Regions from separate parts of the Homo sapiens genome. Here regions 1 and 3 are each linked to region 2. Evidence: promoter capture Hi-C in 16 types of primary human blood cells and fetal thymus (Javierre and others, 2016). All regions are on one chromosome and are shown on one strand. The core of a region is centred on a gene start or on the middle of the fragment in contact, and the rest is flanking DNA. Distances in the headings are between cores, read along the strand shown.

The links. The method cuts DNA at HindIII sites, captures the fragments that hold promoters and counts their contacts. A CHiCAGO score of 5 or more calls a contact.
Region 1: a fragment that was not itself captured here is called in contact with the fragment with the promoter of IK in region 2 in 2 of 17 cell types (M0 macrophages and erythroblasts); the score reaches 6.0 in M0 macrophages.
Region 3: a fragment that was not itself captured here is called in contact with the fragment with the promoter of IK in region 2 in 1 of 17 cell types (M0 macrophages); the score reaches 7.6 in M0 macrophages.

Annotation. Positions count from the first base shown.
Region 1 is chr5:141,576,614-141,580,447 of GRCh38, forward strand. DIAPH1 (diaphanous related formin 1) reads right to left here. Exons shown (of 28, transcript NM_005219.5): 9 at 2,475-2,583; 10 at 1,902-2,012; 11 at 1,612-1,730; 12 at 862-978; 13 at 143-258. Among named protein-coding and RNA genes, the nearest start is that of DIAPH1-AS1, 20 kb to the left of the region's middle. The HindIII fragment of the contact is 661 bases long and covers 1,131-1,791 here.
Region 2 is chr5:140,646,255-140,649,763 of GRCh38, forward strand. IK (IK cytokine) reads left to right here and starts at 1,575. Exons shown (of 20, transcript NM_006083.4): 1 at 1,575-1,670; 2 at 2,217-2,283. The coding sequence starts at 1,655. It overlaps NDUFA2 (NADH:ubiquinone oxidoreductase subunit A2), which reads right to left and starts at 1,376. Exons shown (of 3, transcript NM_002488.5): 1 at 1,229-1,376; 2 at 1,002-1,108. The coding sequence starts at 1,329. It overlaps MIR3655 (microRNA 3655), which reads left to right and starts at 1,590; the gene lies at 1,590-1,672. It also overlaps a transcript of TMCO6 not described here. RefSeq lists enhancers at 954-1,373, 1,114-1,649. The HindIII fragment of the contact is 8,030 bases long and covers 1,443-3,509 here.
Region 3 is chr5:141,601,231-141,604,829 of GRCh38, forward strand. All of the region lies in intron 1 of DIAPH1 (diaphanous related formin 1), which reads right to left. Among named protein-coding and RNA genes, the nearest start is that of DIAPH1, 16 kb to the right of the region's middle. The HindIII fragment of the contact is 1,662 bases long and covers 1,336-2,997 here.

The DNA of each region.
Region 1 (3,834 bases), core at 211-2,710, 930 kb after region 2:
GCTGGTTATGACCTAAGAAAGGACAAAAATAGAACTATCTGGGGACTGGAAAGGTATCTTCTCTGACATTTTCACTGAAACAAGATGCAAAATGAAAGGAAGAAGCAATACTTGGAGGAGCCAGATAGAAGAGTATGCTTACCAATTAATCCCTCAATCTCAATCTGGAGGTGCCGGCACTTGAAGTCAGGATCAGCCCCGTTCTTGTGCAGAACTATCTGGGAAATACATTCTTCAATCAACTTATAGTACTGAGGTCTACAAGAGAATAAAAACAGGGTCATCAAAGGAAAATCAAAATATAATTTTCAGAAGTATTCAGGACCAAGAAAACGTAATTGCTCTGACAACTGAGAGACCTGGAAAAACTTTTGTAAAGTTAACACAAGTATTGCTGCCATGCTAAGAAAACTCCTTTTTCCACATCAGCTACCCTACCCTATCTACTTCAAATAATCAAAACTTCTTGCCATCCGCTCCTAGTGCCAATACTTTCCCATCTAAAAATTTGCGTTTGATCCTTCCTGTGATGGATAGTGCTATTGCTAAATCTATACTTCCAGGAAACTAGAAAGAATTTTAAATTGCCACTTCTGTTTGCTAACATCTTCATCCTATTTACCTACTCCCCTCCAAAAACAGAACGGCATTTCACCTTATACACTCTGACCTCTGCCATAGGGATGCCTTTGAGTTGGATTAAAGAAATAAGACAACTTCCTTTATATCGGTGACTAATGAACCCTAATCTTGGGTCTTTGTCTTTACATTTTCCTTTTACAGAACAATCTTTGAATTTAAGGAATTCACTCTCTCCACTTAGGCTCAAATTCAAAACTTCTCATAAGCACAGCATCTTACCTGGCCTCATAGTCATTTCGGACCAAGAGTAAGTGCTGCAGGATGGAAAGGAAGTGTGGCTCTGCCTTTGAATCCTTCACTGTGTTTAAGAGAATCTGAAAGACTTCATTAAAGTCAGTGGAAAAGGGAAATAGGCTAAGGAAAGCAAATATGCAGAAATTATGTTTGACAGGTGGCTTATTTAACTCTTGAAAAAGCTAGGGAAAAGTAGCAAGACACCACTTCCATTCTACTGGCTGTTCTTCCTGTAAACATCACCAGAAACTTTAAGCTTTCTAAAACGTCCTTTAAGGGACCAGTGAATTGGGTGGTACTATACACACAGAGGATTCCTAGTAAGTACTTGGCTTGAAGATCAGGCAGTAGACAGAAAATAAGAGGTAACTGCCTCAAAGTCACTTACTGAAAATATTAACAGGTAACTAAATTACTCCCTCTGTCAGTCCAAACATCTCTAAAAGCCAGTTCTACATCTTAGTAAGCTAAGCTATCACATTCTAGGAAGTTTACACTGATTTTGATGGCTTCCATGCTCAACAACCCTCAGATCACCTTTACTGACTTCCCTGATCTATGATAAGCTAAGTAAAGCCAGCGCAATAAAAATACACCTGCCTTATTTAATGAGAAGACACATAAGCCTGATGCTCTGTTCTGAGTCATCATCTCCCAAACCATTCCACACAGGGATCAGGGAACTAAATACAATGAATGTCTCATCTGCCTTGAACCTAGTCAGCAAAAGGATATTCCATCTCCATGCGAATGTCATCCAGCCGTCCCTTCAGGTCATAGGAATCCTCTTCCCCTTGTTCATCAAACACATTTAGTTGCACTCTCATATCTTCATTTTCAATCTCTCGAAGGTCCTGTCAACAACAAAAGTAGAAGTCAGGGAACCCAAAAGTATCCTCTGTGGTTAGAAACCTAAGCTTTTCAACCTGGTTTTTAATTGAAAACCAGAATTATCCCCGGGATTATTGGGGCTGTAGAGCAAGAAGGAACCAGTCTAGCCTTTCTAATGAAGTGTAATATCTTACCTGCAACACCTGATGTAGCCCCAAACGCATCAGTTCACTTCTGATGTGAACTCGGAAGTCAAGTTCCTCCGCTGGTGTGATGAGAGCATTGATCAGCTGTAGGCATCCAACCTAAAATAAGAAAATTCAGCAGCTATGTCAATGCTAACTCCTGGAGATCAAGAATCCATTTTCTTTACATGCATTCTTAGGTCCCCAATACAACCTGAAAGATACAATACAAAAACTCTAAAGATGACTTTTCTACTATAGCAATGAGACCTGGTTTGAGTACAGATCCGGAGAGCCTAAACTCTAAATGGTTTCAAGGATTTGAGAGTATATGTTATTGTAGGTCTTGGTTTTCCTAGATTGTAAATAGATATCATGCCTTTTTCCATCTCATAATGAGGAAAACAGTTCATTCTTTACCTTCTTAGAAAGAAGGTTAATCATTTTCCCTTCATAACAGATTCTGAAATGTAAAATATATAGTTGGGAGGCACTCCATGTATTTTATTAAAAGGTCAAATGAATTTAAGTCTGTCCATCTTGAATTCTATTCTTGGGCCCAGTTTCAGGGGATATACATGCCTTCAGTGCAATAGTGGTTCCACTTTTTAATCCATCCAGCAGCGGCTGGAAACGTTCCACTTCATCCATCTCAGCTCTTTCTGTCATTGCCTCCAAAACCCTTTCATTCCTGCCCAAGAGAAAGGAAACGGAGAGAACTTTCCAGGTACTGTGACACGGACACGTATAATGAGTAAATTACACAGGGGCACAGACCGATTAGGAAACAGGACATTATCAGTGTTCCGGATTTCTCACATTATTATTCTCACCACTCAGTTTCCAGAAACTGCTGAAAGCTAAGGACCATCTCTTCAGGGAAATGCATTCCCTACAATCCATCCCTAGGCTCCTGTCCATAAATACCAAATCAAGTCCCCTATTCAATGAAGTATAAATTGATACAACTTTTGGAGGGGCATTTAACAGTACTAATCAATTTCTCATGCATGTAACATATAGTCTACTTCTAGAAATGTATCCAACATATGGGCATAAATGTGAAAGAAGATATGCACAAGGATGTTCACTGCAGTATCATTTGTAAAAATGATCACCTAGAACAGATAGTGAAATCTGCTTTAAAAAATATCTGTAAGTTGGCTGGGCGCAGTGGCTCACGCTTGTAATCCTAGCACTTTGGGAGGCCGAGGCGGGCGGATCACAAGGTCAGGAGTTCGAGACCAGCCTGGCCAATAGGGAGAAACCCCATCTCTACTAAAAATACAAAAATTAGCCAGGCGTGGTGGCGGACTCCTGTAGTCCCAGCTACTCGGGAGGCTGAGGAAGGAGAATCGCTTGAACCTGGGAGGAGGAGTTTGCAGTGGGCCGAGATCGCGCCACTGCACTCCAGCCTGGGGAACAGAGCGAGCCTCCGTCTCAAAAAAAAAAAAGGAAAAAAAAAAAATCTGTAAGTCCAGCAACAGGGGAATTGTTAAATAAATTATAGGCCATACATACATGTATATGGAATACTAAATAGCTACTAAAGATAATAAGGTAGATCTGTAAGTACCGACATAGAAGAAATGTCCAAGATCTACTATTAAAAAGAAACAGGTTGAAAAGAATGATTTAGCTTTGGTTAAACCAAATCCCTCTTCAATAATAAAAATCTATCCTATATATGCAGTTAGTTTTATAGGCATAAGTGTCATTCCTCAGCTCTTAAGATACTATCTTTTGCGGTGGCAGATGTCTAGAATCAAGGGAACGCAATATGTTTGTCTATGCTTAGGAAACGTTCTATGAGACTATACCATGCCATTAACAGTCATTCTCTTTGCAGAATAGGATTTGGCAAAGGGATGAGGCAGTTAAATTTTACTTTATATACTTCTATATCGTTTGAGTTTTAAAAATAACATTGTGCCACTTCTGA
Region 2 (3,509 bases), core at 325-2,824:
CCTGCTTCAGCCTCCCAAAGTGCTGGGATTACAGGCGTGAACCACCGCACCCAGCTGGGTACCCATTCTCTAGGCTCCCATAGGCTATCTAACATAATACCCAGCACAATACACTAAAGTTACTCGTGTCTATCTCCTCCTGTAGTCTACTGGCTTTTGGAAGGAGAAGCTTTTTTCCTTCTCCAATTATTAGTGCATGTCTAATGTCTACTGTGTCTCACAGATATCTACTCTGAGAACCAATCTGCTTAAGGTGGTCACTCTCCTCCACCTCCTCCCGTCATTCCCAGGGCACCATATAGTTAAAAGCTGTGATTAAAATCCTGTTATTCAGTATGTATAAACATTTATTGCATACCTACAATGTGTTAGGCAACATGATAGGAAAATTTCATTTTGCAATACATTGCCATGCCAGTCTTAGAGGGGTAAGTGCATTCTAGGAAGGGGAATAAATGTAAAGGCTCAATCCTGTTAAACTCTAGCTGCATCTAAAGTTGCAGCTAGAGTTTAACAATAGTGCAAAACAAAGTTTTGATTCCGTTTTCTAATCTCTACAGTGAGAAAAGAAGAACACGCTTCCTCCTAACTAATGAAGATTAAATGAGTTAGGCAGGGAAGCACTCAGCACAGGGCCCAGCTCTATGTGCAAAATTACTGAGATTCTCACACACTACCTGGACTGACACTGGCTACACGTTATTTGGAGAAACTATATTGACTAACTTCTCTCCTGTCTGAAGCCCATTCTTAACTACAAAAACGTCAGCTCCTGGTCCCTACGCAGGATTCGGTCAGCCTGCATACTTATGTTGCCCGGAATACAACGCATCATATAACCCTGCGAATATAAATTTCTTCATGGAAACAAGATCAACAGCAAGGCTAAAGTCCGAGTTCTAGTTTCTCCACGGGTTTCTGCACGACCTTGGGCGGTCCCTTCTCTTCTCAAACCCTTGTTCCCCTACCGGAGCCCCAGACCCCTGGCGTCCCGCACTCACCGTAGCGGGCCCAGAGCTTGGGCTGCACATCGGAGCATTCGCGGATTAGGATGGGTAGGTCGGGATTCGCCTTCTTCAGCTCCACGTAGCGTTTCTCAATGAAGTCCCTGCGGGGCCGGAGAGAGCGCCGCGCGTGCTGTGGGCGGGGGCTTCCCTCAACTTCAGGGAGGTCGAGGTCGTGACCCTGGCGTCCCGAAGCCCGCCCGCCTCACCACGCCGCGCCTCACCTGACGCCCTGGCTGCCGGGCGAGCGCTGACATAAGTGGATGCGAATCTCACGCAGGCCCAGCTTTGCCCCGACTCCTCGACTTGCTGCGGCCGCCGCCATCCTTGTTAATATCGAAGTCGCCAATTCCAGGTCTTCAGGCCAAGTGCTCCGGTCTGACCAACCGCGGACCCTAAAGCCTAGCCCATAGGCTGCATGAGGCAGGGGCGGGGTAAAGCTTGGCCAATGATATAAAAGTATTGTAGGACCGCTGCGAGGTCAATTTCTTTGCGCTCGGGGTTGGTCGGAGGGAAAAACAGGAAGCGGAAAGGCTGCGAACGCAAAGCAGTGTGGGTTGATTCTGAGGTGCACTGTGGGAAAGAGCTTGTCGCTGCGGTGTTGCTGTTGGAGACTCGATTGTTGGTGACAGCGAAAGAACGATAACAAAATGCCGGAGCGAGATAGTAAGGCTCAGGCCATCCGTTATTTCTTCCCCATGGCACTTGGGGCACTTGGCGCATTATTGTAGCTTCTGAGCTTAAGCCGGGTGTGTGTGTGTGTGTGTGTGTGTGTGTGTGTGTGTGTATGTATGTATGTGTGACGCTTGAGCCCGGAGAAGCCACAGGGTCCTAAGTGAGGCCGACAGCTCCAAACTCCGTCCCCAGTCCTCACTCCTACTCCAAGTGATGATGGGCGGCTTTTGTGCGTGGATCGCTTTCCCCCAGTCCTGTCCCCATACTTAATCCTGGGTTGCGCGTATTTATCTTTTACGTAGTATTTTAGACGTGATCTTCCGGAAGTCTTCTCTGATCCTCCAGCGCAGGATTAGGGTCCTCTGCTTTGTGCTCCCACAGCTTCTTGTAGTTTCCTATTTCAGCACTTATTACATTGTGTTGACACTGTCGCTGTTCTAACTTTTGTTCTGTATTGTTCACTACTATATCTCAAATTTTTGCATAGGATCTGACACGTAAGAGACTGATTAAATTAACGTCAATTTTTTTTGTCAGGTGAGCCGTTCTCCAACCCTTTGGCCCCCGATGGCCACGATGTGGATGATCCTCACTCCTTCCACCAGTGAGTATTTTGTGCTAGGACCATGGAAATGAGTTGGGCAATGAATAGAAAAGTGGTGGTGATGGTGAAAGAATTCTGAATGTCTTGTCATCAAGGATGGTAAAAAATTATACCCGCTGGCCCTTTATCTCTGTGAGCCTTAACTGGATCAGGCCAAGTGCATAAGGGTATTAGAAGGGAAATTCCTGCAGGAAAGGTGTTAAGTTTTTTTTTTTTTTTATACGTGTTGTGTAATTACACATTATATAGGAATTACTTCTTCCAATAGCAAATTAAAACATAGGAAATAAGGGTAAAATCATCTTTTTATTTTTTTTGAGACTGAGTTTCGCTCTTGTTGCTCAGGCTGGAATGCAGTGGTGCGATCTCGGCTCACCACAACCTCCGCCTCCCGGGTTCAAGCAATTCTCCTGCCTCAGCCTTCCGAGTAGCTGGGATTACAGGCATGTTCCACTACGCCCGGCTAATTTTGTATTTTTAGTAGAGATGGGGTTTCTCCATGTTGATCAGGCTGGTCTTGAAATCCCGACTTCAGGTGATCCACCCGCCTCTGCCTCCCAAAGTGGTGGGAGTACAGGCGTGAGCCACCGTGCCTGGCCCCCGATAAAATCATCTTTGATAACATCCCCAATTCCAGTCCATTTCTTTTTTTTTTTCTTTTCTTTTCTTTTCTTTCTTTTTTTTTTTTTTTGAGACGGAGTCTCACTGTTACCCAGGCTGGAGTGCAGTGATGCAATCTTGGCTCACTGCAACCTCTGCCTCCTGAGTTCAAGCGGTTCTCCTGCCTCAGCCTCCCAAGTAGCTGGGACTACAGGCATGTGCCACCATGCACGACTGATTTTTTTTTTTGTATTTTTAGTAGAGACAGGGTTTCACTGTGTTCGTCAGGCTGGTCTTGAACTCCTGGCCTGAAGTGATCCACCCGCCTCAGCCTCCTAAAGTGCTGGCATTACAGGCGTGAGCCACCGTGCCCAGCCTCAGTCCTTTTCTTAGAAGTAACCACAGTTACCTTTTTTGGCATATCTTTTCCTCCCGTTGCCCAGGCTGGAGTTCAATGGCATTATTTCTGCTCACAGCAACCTTTGCCTCCTGGGCTCAAGCAATTCTTCTGCCTCAGTTTCCCCAGTAGCTGGGATTACAGGCATGCCCCACCATGCTTGGCTAATTTTTGTATTAGTAGAGACAGGGTTTCGCTATGTTGGCCAGGCTGGTCTTGAACTCCTGAC
Region 3 (3,599 bases), core at 917-3,416, 960 kb after region 2:
AAAAATAAAAAATAAAAATAAAATAAAAATAAAATCTTAGACACAGAAAAAAAAAAAAAAGAACTACTCCCTCTTTTTTGAGATGAAGTATCACTCTGTCACCCAGGCTAACGTGCGGTGTGATCTTGGCTCACTGCAACCTCCGCCTTCTAGGTTCAAGTGATCTCCTGCCTCAGCCTCCCGAGTAGCTGGGATTACAGTTGCACACCACTATATCTGGCTAACTTTTCTATTTTTTTAGTAGAGAAAGGGTTTCGCCATATTGGTCAGGCTGATTTTGAATTCCTGACCTCAAGCGATCCATCTGCCTCAGCCTCCCAAAGTGCTGGGATGACAGGCGTGAGCCACCGCACCGGGACTATATTAGAACCTTCTTAACAGATCATTTGTTGTAACTTTTTCTGTGAACCAGACTAAATTGCATGAGGGCAAAATCATGTCTTATTCAACTGATGTGGCCCACATTTTAATAAATAAATTTTAAAATTAGCATCACTACAGGTTTAGGAGCATCATCCGAAACAGTATATTTATTCTTTCATTACTCTATTCAAATTGAGAAAAGTAAGGAAAAGTTTCAATTCAAGGTATATGACAGTACACTATGATTGTTACGAATAGCTCAGTAAATCAAACCTTCAAGAGTAATGTCTTTCCTTATGAATGAGACCAAGGAACCTTGACTGGAGCCCACAGGACAATAAGCCCTCAATAATGACAAAGTCTACCTATGGGTAAAATGGGAAATAAGTATCACTACAGCCAAAAATAATTTCCTTTCATATCCTAATCTACCTACCCAGAAAGAACAGGTAAGGTAAGGCATATGTCACTTAGAATCATGCAGAACAGAGAGATAAGGGTCCAGCTCTGATTAATTTCTTTATTCAGGATTGACACAGTTCCTTAGGGTACTGAGGCAACAGAGGGTCATAATAGGATCTTGAATTCAGTTACCATTGAGGCCTGATCTAGCTTTGCCACAAAAAAAAATTTTTTTTTTTGAGACGAAGTCTCACTCTGTTGCCTATGCTGGAGTGCAGTGGCGCAATCTTGGCTCACTGCAAGCTACGCCCCTGCGTTCAGACCATTCTCCTGTCTCAGCCTCCCGAGTAGCTGGAACTACAGGCGCCCATCACCTCACTCGGCTAATTTTTTGTATATTTAGTAGAGACGGGGTTTCACCGTATTAGCCAGGATGGTCTTGAACTCCTGACCTCGTGATCCACCTGCCTTGGCCTCCCAAAGTGCTGGGATTACAAGCGTGAGCCACCACGCCTGGCCTTTGCCACAAAATTTATCACATTTCCACTAAAGGAATGTAAAGTCAGGGTAAGCTTTTAAAAATCGACCACAGTTTCAGTCTTCCTATCTCTAGGGTTCTGTTGTCTCAGAGGACTAGTATGAAGAATAAATAATAAAACAGATATAAAGCACTTTGTTTTGCAAAGTACTTTGTAAAAGTTAAATAATATATGATGGAACCACTGAAACTGGCTAGTTTCCCTTCTTCAATTCCCACTCCTTAAACAGAAGTCAGTCAGAACTAAAGAAAATGAAATAATGGACAACTTTAAATGCACAGAAGAACTTTCCCTTCCATTTTCAAGGAATGGCCCAAAGACAACAGCAATTGAATCAACATTTCATCTAGCATTTACAGAGAAACAAACTAGATTCTGACATCACCACTTATTGGTGCCTGCAGCCTACACAGGCGTTGTGTAGAGTTGGAGTACCCACTTCAAAAAGAAAATAAAGGAAAGAAAAAGGGTACCTCAGAGGAAAGGAAGTCTAGAAGAGGGGCACAAAATGACCAGGAATTTAAAAATATAAACTATAAACCTAGAAAAGCTAAATGTGTTTAAGGGAAAGAAGGCTGAAGATTACCTAGCAGTCCCCAGAAATGGAAATGATAGGCTCATGTTCTCCATGACCACTGAGGAAAAAGTGCTGAAGGATTAGGTAAGACTGTAGCAGCTCCTCCATTTGGTTCAGAGTGCCTCAGCAGCCCCACAGCTAAACTAAGCACTGGAGAGTTAAACTCATTAGTTCCACAATGTATACATATATCAAAACATCATGTTGTATACCATAAACAATTTGTATGTCAATTATACCTCAATAAAGCTGAGAAAACATAAATAAATAATAAACTTGTTAGAATTCATACAACAGCCAACAAAGGAAACATAGTAAAAGACAGTCCAATATCTTTTATTCCTAATTAAAAGAGTTCTATCAATCTACCCCTGCCTTCCAAAATCAGCATCTTTTTCCTAACCCCACCCGGGAACAATGAAAGATTCTAGGCAGTGGCCAGTGTCAAGCACAAGTTAGAAATGCCGTATAAAGAACAGTAGTAACTGTAGTCCATTCTGTATTTCAATAATTTGCTTATAAATTTGAAATAATTTACTTATAAATGTAAAGCAACTAACTTAATGTCCTGCACAACTGTCTAAAACTGTTGGTGAGTCTGCTTTCCAATAAACCTTATTTCCCAATTATAATTAAAATGAGGGGAAAACTATCTTAATATTAGAATTGGATCCTCTAACAGGTCCAAAGTATCACTTCTCTAATAGTTCAAGAAGGCAAGTACCTTGGGGAAAGGGAAAAAGTAACTTTTTGCCTACAGCTCAGCTCATCCTAAAGCCCTGCAACTGGCAGCCGGCATCCTAGGTAGTTGATAGCCCAGAGGGAAGGAGGAAAGGCCACGCTGGTATCACTATTCCAGCACAGCAGAACAGGTAGAAACCGGGCTGAGGATGCTGCATTCCTCCAAGTCCATCCATACAAACTGCCAGTCCTTGCACTATAAAGCACACATGGTTTGGGCAAACAAGCTGCCAACAGAGAAAGTGCTCAGAGTCTGGAAGTCCTACTTTCCTATCAAGTATCACAAGGTGTAGCAGGCACACCGGTATCTTCTGCTGTTCAGAAGGTGAAAGCCAGCATGCATAGTCTGTCATTTGGTGACAGAACAGTAAGCAAAGCTTCCTTCCTTTCAAACATTCTAAGGTTCCAATACAACTTTTGAATACATATACAGGAAACAAAACATAATGTTAACCAATTTTTCCAAAATTTCAACATATTTCTCAAGCTTCAAATATTGATACTTGCTCTTCCTTTCTTACTAGGCCTCTCCCTCTGCTGCCTAAGCTTAGAGAAGACTATGATCACTCCTTTAAAAAAAGGGGTGTTGTCCATTCATTTAGAAATAGTCAGTGACTCAGGAATGCTGTTTCCCAATCGCCGTAGCAACTGTCTTCTCCTCCCATGTTATGATGTGAGTAGCAGGACATCTACTCTTCCTCAAGGGTGGGCATGTGTGTGACACACCCAAAGCCTAGCAGACAGCAGGAAGTTTCTGCAACTGCTACCGCTTCTACATACAGGCACCAAGTATGAGGACACCTTGTTTTAAATCCCATTCCTAAAGTCCTTTCATTTCTAAATAATCTCTTTTTTGTATCCTCACACCACTCCTGAATACCCAGAAATAATCCTACCCCTACTGACAACCGCTTAACTAATCCAAAAATTATACTACTACTCAATAAGCCAGACTTGATCCTACGAAACCACAGAAA